Regions from separate parts of the Homo sapiens genome. Here regions 1 and 2 are each linked to region 3. Evidence: promoter capture Hi-C in human tissues and cell types (Jung and others, 2019). All regions are on one chromosome and are shown on one strand. The core of a region is centred on a gene start or on the middle of the fragment in contact, and the rest is flanking DNA. Distances in the headings are between cores, read along the strand shown. Region 1 overlaps BMPR1B (bone morphogenetic protein receptor type 1B). Region 2 has its middle 180 kb from the start of PDHA2. Region 3 holds the start of UNC5C (unc-5 netrin receptor C).

Region 1 (2,700 bases), core at 39-2,538, 390 kb before region 3:
AAATTGTCATGAGCTGTGTTGAAGACAGGGTGCTTTCAAATAGAGGTAATTTGCTCTTGTGTTGTAAGAGGAACATGTCAACAAAGATAGGAAATGAGGGTGATCGTGCAGATGGCTTGTATCTTATATATGCAAAGGAGCCAATCTCAGAAGCACAAAGAAAAAAGTGTGCATACCTTATTTTGTACAGATAAAGATGATGTCTTTTTGTTATTGTCTGTCTGTTTTGTATGTGTCTGAGATAAGGGATAGAGAGGAAACATCCGTCAGGCTAATTTAACTACATTTTATTTTAAAAATAGAGAAACATAACCTCTAGATGGGACAGCAGAGGACAGTTAGTAGAGGCCACAAACTGTTATGGGCTGCTGTGTTTTGTTCTAAAATCAATATGGTTGGAGCATGTATATCTTAGGTGATCATTTCACATCTTAGGAATGCCTACTCATTTTATTTTATTCTAGTGATGCTCAATTCACTATTTAATTTATTATATTTTCTCTTCTGTGGCACTTATACAAAATATCTCTTCACCTACTTAGTTCTACAGGGTTTTAACTTTGGAGCAACATGAATAAAATCATCGAGAAGGCCAATATTGTTTAGCAACATGAATACAATACAGTTTAAAGTTGTACACATCCTGCTCAACTTTATTCATATACATTTCCTTTCTGTGGTTTTCTTTTGCTTCTTAGAAATTCTGTTAGTGGTTAGTAAAGAATTTGAAAGTACTTTCTCCTTGCTGTTTTTTTTTTTTTTTAAGACATTCCTCCCAGAATACTCCAGGGGGCAGTGTTTTATAACACATTTTCCCCACTGGGTGATTGAAGGATGGAGGATTTTTGAAAATTTGACAGCTACATGAAACATGAGAAAACATTTTCCTCACTTCTGAAGTCGGTTTGCAGCTGGTAACTTGTTCATCCAGAAAACATTCTAAAGCAATGAGACTTTGTGAGCTGTGCTTACAGTTTGGGAGAATCATGAAGATTCTTTCTATATTTTGCATTTACTTCCCAGTGCTTCATAGCTGCATTTTGTTTGTAACTAAGACAGAAGAATTTCGTAATCCTTGAAATTGAAAAAAAAAAAATTGTGTTTTTAAAGAGTGAAAACAGTTAGAAAACAAGTAGAACTGTAATCAGAACGCTGCTTCAATTGATATTAAAAATAACCTCAATAATAATGTAAAGGTTCCTTTCTCTTGTGTCAGTTATATTCTTAGGGATAGCCTAGAAGGAATATATGGTTAGAACTAAGTGTGACTAATCATCTGAGCCTTGAAGAGAAACTTCAGTGCCTCTAAACAGATCATCTACAAAACAACAGGTAAACATTTATGCCAGTTAAGTGGGTCATGTTTTTGTTTCTTGGGTTTTTCCTAAATTTAAGTGAGGTTGGGCTTACCTTGTAGATAAAATTATGTTTTCTTTTTGGTAAATACTTGAACGTGGATAACGTCAAATCAGAATATTTTGTGAGGAGGTGATGATTTGAAATTAAGCTAGATTTCTAGGGAGGTGTTGGTTCCAATGAAGGATGGGAAGAAATTAAAATAGTCTTCAAACTTCTTCCTTATTATATTTGGTTGCTTTGGAAAAGATTGGTCCTATCCTCAATCTAATTTATTCACTATTAATATTTTAAAAACATTCCTGAGATACTTAAAAAGACCCACTTAGCGATTATAGTTGCTCAATGAAACAAGAATTTATTTATGCATAGATTTTTCTCTGTATCTTACCAAAATCCACTTTACTTAGATAACACTAAATTGTTCTTAAAGACTACTCATTTCCCAATAATCCTTTATGATTTCAAAATTTCTAGTGGCTCAGAAGTGAATTTTATTTTATTTGTCTTTCACTTGAATAAATGAGAACCCAGAAATTAATAATGTTGTTTATTGCTTACTGTCAGGACTATTTCAAAGACTAAGAAGAGTTTCTTCTAACCCCTCCCTCTCAAAGGAATCCTAAATTATTAGTTGTTAGATAAGTTTTGTATGCTAAGATATTCAGGTTTATAGTTTATGTATGTGTGTATATATATAAATATATATGTATATATAAATATTATGTTCAGTTTGGAGTCTGGCACAACTCCATTATGTGGATTAGAGAGTAAGATATTATGGATGATAAAGTACTAAATGAAACATAATATTTATTTATAAAAGTGTGTAGATTGTTAAATCACAAAAAGAGTGCTATGACCATTATGTATGAGGAAACAGGCCTTTGACCTCCTGGAAAGCACTGCTCAAAAGTCATTAGTGCCCATTTTTGAATTCCCCAAACAGAAAGCTTCTTAGAAAACATGCTGAGATTTTATTTACAGGGAATTCTTTGACACATTTCAATTGGTGTGTAGTCAAGTATAGCAAGTACTTAATAATGACTGAATTTCATGTTCCTACAGTCATACATATTCATTAGAAGTTTTATGTTGTTGGTCTGATCTGATTCTTCTTTGTTTGTGGGTGGAACGGCACTGAGAGAAGTATAGTTTTTTAAACTTGAACATGTTCAGTAGTTACATTGCCTTAGAAAACCCAGACACATAGCAGTGGAAATGAAAGAAATGGCATCAGAAGTGACTTAATTTAGCAATTGTGATTCCTCTTGTAAAACAAAACAAAAAAACAATGCCATATTTTTTGGAGAAAAGTTGGCAATATAGGGGTTTCGTTGTCTG
Region 2 (2,700 bases), core at 146-2,645, 470 kb after region 3:
CTAAATCTGGAAGCTGCTAAAGCTCAGTTCTTCTCACCAACAATCTTTCCTCCAGACTGACAGTCTGCGAAGTTTTCTTACTTTCCTACTGTAGAAAGGTCAGGCTTTTATTAAACATAACTGCCCTCCAACACCCCCTGAGGATCTTAGACATAGATATTTTTTGGGGATTTTGGCATAAAGTTTGCTATTTTAGTCAGTATTTAAATTGACATTTACATTTTTGTACCTTAATCCTCTCTGCTGATATCCTGGATGCCTGCCTATGTTATATATATTCTTTCTGATAAAGTTTCTGAAATGAACTAGTGCCAGCTGAGGAGCAAATTCCTTTGCTATCACTGAGGTAAGCACTGGAAATTGAGGAACATTTTAAAATTTGCAAAGTTTCTCTTTAGCAGTGGAGGAAAAAAAGCCCCTTACCATCAGTTTCTGTTTAATTCAGAGGCCAATTCACCATATTTTTCAGGAAGACTGATAAGACATAACTTTGTATGTATTTGTAACTATTCTTTCACTTTAGGGAAATGAAAAGAATGAAAAGTGAAAAAGTAGGTTGAGAAAACAGAATTTAATAGTTTTAAAAATTGTAACATGCTCTAAAATGGGGTGTCTTAAATTACTAAACACTTTCCAAATTATACATAGCGGTAGGAGAAAATAGGATGCATATCATAAAACAGATGTGGCAAGTTCAGATTAACTGTTAGGTTTTGAACTTCTGGGGTTTTCTTTCATTACACTCTAAACCCTATGTAGATAGGATCAGATCTTTGTTGATTAATGTTTTGTCCAAAGTCATTAGCATAGAGCTTGAAACATTTATCAGTGATCAATAAATATTTGGTGAATTAGAACCAATGAACATATGAGTTGTACTTTAGTTACCATGGATTATTTATGGATAAAATAAGACTATTTCCACTAAAATGGAGGTTCCACTGATTATACTTTGGCCAGGGTTTCCTGGCCAAGAACATGACTATACACATGGATGAACAGAAGACTATATGAGAGAAGGATTTGGAATCAGATGTGAACCCTGGGAAGTATATATATATGCTACTCTCAACTTTTGCCCAAATAGTCCTTCTGAGAAGCCATTTCAAGATAAAAGTCACAGTGGCCAAGAGAGTTAGATATGTAGTTGCAAATGGGCAAGACTTCCTAATAAGTGATAATCAGGTGTTTGCTATTAATGAATTCAATAATAATCTTACAGGATGTTTTAAAGAAGCCTAACTATTAATGTAAAGCTTGTGAAGATACACTATTATTTTAAAAGCTAAACTAGATAATAGATAAACAAGATAATAGAGAAACAAGAAAAGAGAAGTTGTTTTTCTTTAACATTTTTCCTCTTGTTACATGATGAGGATTTCTATGTGTGTAGGATCCAAGGATAAAGTGAAAGCTTTTCTTATTGTCTGAAAGGAAAGATAGCATATTCTGAAAGGCAGAGTAGTATGTTGGCATTGTACCGACTGACTATGCATTAGATCAGACAGCAAATTAGATATTGATAGAACTATTTTGGACAGTCAATAAGCTTTCTGATGATTGATATCTTTACACTGCCTGGTAATATCAGTGCCAGCATTTAGAAACTAGACAAAGAAGCTGTAATATAATATTCTTTTTGTGGAATCCTTAAGTGTAATCTAAACTGAAAAGTCTCATTACTTAGATAGCAGGATTTACAGAGCTGACTTTCTCAGGAACAAGGGAAAGAAAATTAAAACATCATCCATTCCTTTGTGTACAAAACTGTCCTTCACCCTTCAATCTGAATCAGAGGGCAAAGAAGTCAAGTGGTTTAAAGTTCTTCTGATATGTGGCAAAAAAAGTGGTTCACAAAAGCAGTCAGCAAAAGTATACCCTGAAGAATAAAAGTAAACGAAATGTGAAGCAAATGGTTCATTTCATTAGGTGACTGTTTCTGATAGGACATTTAGATTAAAACACAGTGCTCAGGAAACCACAAAATATATCACTGTCTCCTTCTAAATAATAGTTTCTGAAATGTAATCAGGAAAGTAGAAGATAATGATAAAAGGCACTGTGACATGTAATGGCCTCTGTTTTTCTTTCTCCAATCTCCTCTCATCCTCCATTTTATTGTTCATGAAGAATTTTTCTACAAATTTAATCAATCAATCAATCAATTAATTAAATGTGTGTTTATTCCCCCATTTATTCAGCCAGCAAATATGTGTTGGCATGGTTATAGACAGTGGAATTCAGTAGATGGTGAAACAAACAAAAATACCTTCTCAGAGCTTAACCTCTAGTGGGAGAAGACAGATGATTAGCAAATAAATAAGTAAAGTATATAGGAGATCTATTGATGATCAGTGCTAAGTAGATGAATAAAGTCAGTAAAGAAGTTAATAAATGCCATGAGATGAGGTTTGCTATTAGGAATGGCAGATGAAATATGAGATATTTAATTATATTTGGATTTTAATTAAAAAGCCACACATAATTATTTTAGTAAAAGTATATCCCAAGTATTACTAGATGAACAAAAAGAAACATGATTGGAGAAGAAGTCATAATGCATGTTGTGAGGAAATTATGCAGTAGTCTTACATATGCTTTGAAGAAGTGGTGGAAATATTGAACATACTAAGTAGAACCATAAGAGGATATAAAAGTCCAAATTGGAATTTTAGATGTGAAAATTAAAATGCCTGAGAT
Region 3 (2,700 bases), core at 169-2,668:
CCTCTGAATGCTGCATAAGCTTCCTTCATTCTCTCCTCTTCCAGGAAAAGCTGAGCTGCCTCGCCTGAGCCGGCTATCACCACTGAAGTGGGCTAAGAGACCCAAGTAGGAGCTGGGCTTGGCCAGAAGTTTTGGGGCCCAGGTGACCTGAAAGAGACCCCGGAGGGGACAGCCTTGGCTCTTTCTTCTGCGCTCCCTTCCAGTCAGCTTTCCCGGCTTTGAAGGCTGGGAGCTGCTGCTAACACTTCAAACTAGGCGGACAAGAAGGGAGCCGGGCGATCAGCTCCGGAGCCTCCCCTCCTCCCTTACCCATCCCCAACTCCCGGCCACACTCTTCCCAACCCGGCTTCGCCCAGGGCCCCGGTCACTTATGTTAAAGTTCACAGGCGTTAAATTAAAATGTCAGAGTTATAAACTGGTCGACTACCCCGGGGAGTTTCGGATTTGGTTTGAACAAGCAGCCGGTTCCCCCAGAGCTCCGGGATTTTCATTTCTACATCCCCTGGTGGGAAGCAGGCATGAAGCGGGGTATGTATGAGTGCAGAGGCATGCACATCCCGGGCCTGCCTCCAGCCGGGTACGCGGATTCGGGTGAGCTGTGTATTTCCACAGCACCTGAAGCAGCAGGCGAGGGGGACGGGTGCTTTTGAGTCCTTGACAGTAATGGACACATTTCCTTAGCTGAGCGCCCTTCGGGGTCTAGTGTGCTCAGAGACTCAGTGAAGATCCTGCTACCCCAGTCTTGGCACAGCGCGGGGAGCCTCTGCGCATCATGCGCTTCGGGGTGCATCTACGGTATGTCACACAGCCACCCGCACCGAGAGTCTTTCCAAACCTCCGTGTGTGCAATATGCAACAACGTGCGCGTGCGGAGCTGAAAGGGCACAAGACACTCCAGGCTCCCACACGTATGGAGACGGATCGGCTGCGTGTCCACACCCCGTTCGTCCCTGGTCCATTCGTGCCCATCTCAGAAGATAGATTAAACATAATAATAATAATAATTATTATTATTATAATCAAAGCTTCTTGACTAGTTGGGAAAGTGGAATTTAGAGTGGTTTCCAGTTGAAAGCAACGAGGCAAATTGAGGAAGTCAAGAGAACTGGGGAGGAGGAGAGGAAGGAGGGAAGGAAGAAGCTAAGGGAGGTGGCCGCGGAGCTTGGCGGACCCCCTTACCTTGGGCGGCGGAGCCAGTGCCGCTGGCGCTGAGCAGGGCCAGGGCAGGTAGCACGAGCATTTGCAGCAAGTATCCCAGTCCCAGTCCGCAGCGGGCCGCTGTCGCCCGCAGACCTTTCCTCATCGTAGACAGAGGTGTGCCGGGGGGAGGGGAGGGGGACAGAGAGACGCGCAAACAGCTGAAAGCCCCACTGGGCAGAAGCTGAATCCGTGCACCGCGAAGCAGTCCGAAGAAATAACGACAACCAAGCGCCACACTCCACTTTCTCCAAAGGCAGGGGCCAAAAGGGGGAGGAGAGGAGACGCCGAGGAGGAGTTTGAAGGTCCCTCTTTCCCAATGCCTTCTAACTGACGTCTCCCGCGAGCGACTGCTCTGCCCCCACTTGGGAAGTCCAGGGAGGCGCAAGGCGGCCACCTCCGCCGCTCCCCCCAGCAGCAGGAGCAGCCGCAGCTCCGCCGCACGCCGAAGTCTGGACTGCTCTCCGGGTCCCCTCGCCTGTGAGGAACACACACAGACACCGGGGGTGGGGGTGGGGGTGGGGGTTGAAGTGGGGGGAGTTGGAGGAGGAGGGAACGGAGGGAGGAAGCTTGGGCACCGTCAGGCGCTCTGGTCTCCAATCTCAGTGTTCTCACGCCGGCGGAGAGATGTCCCGGCTGTCGCTGCTGGGTGGCCAAGGAGGTTCACATCCTAGAGTAGGGCGCACGGGTGCGCGAAGGCGCTCGCCAAGGAGGCGTAGAGGGCGCAGCACAACTCCTCTGGGGGGTAACCGGGGGCGGGAGCACGCCCGCCCGCCTTATGTAAGCAAGGATTGCAGGGAGATCAGCGCCCAGGAGACCAGCTGTGGGTTTGCCCGCTGAAGCCGAGGCGAGACAGACCAGGGGACGAAGCGGCTGCGGAGAGTGGCAGCGCGCCTGCCTCCCGCGGTGCGCCAGACCTGGACGCCGGGAGTGCAGCGGGCGCGCCCCGGGCCACTAGGCTGTGTCCAGTGGAGCTCAGCCTGCCGCCTGCCACCTTCTTCGCCGCGCCGGCAAAGCCTCAGCCGAATTCCCTAGGACTGGACTCGGTCTACGACTTCGGGTCTCGCGGTTGACGAAGCCGGTGCGGGCTCGAACTGAAGTCCTTCTTGGTTGGGGAAGAAGGCATGAAGCTTTTGCACTGCCCCAGCCGGCTGCTGTCCTGGGGTTGTCAGCGCCAGTCAGACTGCTTTATGTTCTGAGCGCGTATGACCCCTTTGCAGTGGAACAGAAACTAAAAGCTCGACGGAAACTCATTCTGCAACAGTGCTTTCTTTGCGTGCATGTTGGTGGCTGACAAGGGTGGTGATGCGATACCGAGAGAAACTCTCTTAGAAAAAAAAAATGCAAAGCAAAATTTGTAGATACTCAAAGTGATGGTGGAGCCTATAACATGTTTTTCAAATTTCTAATAGTGTGTGTAAGAACTCGAGCTGCTATGAATTTGTTTACCTTTCTACAGGAAATAATTGTCTACGTAGCTGGGTTGTGAATCCCTGTGGTCAT

What was found. The method cuts DNA at HindIII sites, captures the fragments that hold promoters and counts their contacts. A contact is called where the count stands out against the background at its distance.
Region 1: a contact is called between a fragment that was not itself captured here and the fragment with the promoter of UNC5C in region 3, in 2 of the 25 tissues and cell types used here (dorsolateral prefrontal cortex and hippocampus).
Region 2: a fragment that was not itself captured here is called in contact with the fragment with the promoter of UNC5C in region 3 in 1 of the 25 tissues and cell types used here (dorsolateral prefrontal cortex).

Annotation. Positions count from the first base shown.
Region 1 is chr4:95,155,571-95,158,270 of GRCh38, forward strand. It overlaps BMPR1B (bone morphogenetic protein receptor type 1B), which reads left to right. Exons shown (of 13, transcript NM_001203.3): 13 at 1-2,700. Among named protein-coding and RNA genes, the nearest start is that of UNC5C, 390 kb to the right of the region's middle. The HindIII fragment of the contact is 5,361 bases long and covers 1-2,700 here.
Region 2 is chr4:96,017,162-96,019,861 of GRCh38, forward strand. No RefSeq gene overlaps it. Among named protein-coding and RNA genes, the nearest start is that of PDHA2, 180 kb to the left of the region's middle. The HindIII fragment of the contact is 3,002 bases long and covers 1-2,700 here.
Region 3 is chr4:95,547,555-95,550,254 of GRCh38, forward strand. It overlaps UNC5C (unc-5 netrin receptor C), which reads right to left and starts at 1,419. Exons shown (of 16, transcript NM_003728.4): 1 at 1,180-1,419. The coding sequence starts at 1,303. It overlaps UNC5C-AS1 (UNC5C antisense RNA 1), which reads left to right and starts at 1,594. Exons shown (of 5, transcript NR_183914.1): 1 at 1,594-1,677. RefSeq lists an enhancer at 1,861-1,990. The HindIII fragment of the contact is 1,524 bases long and covers 523-2,046 here.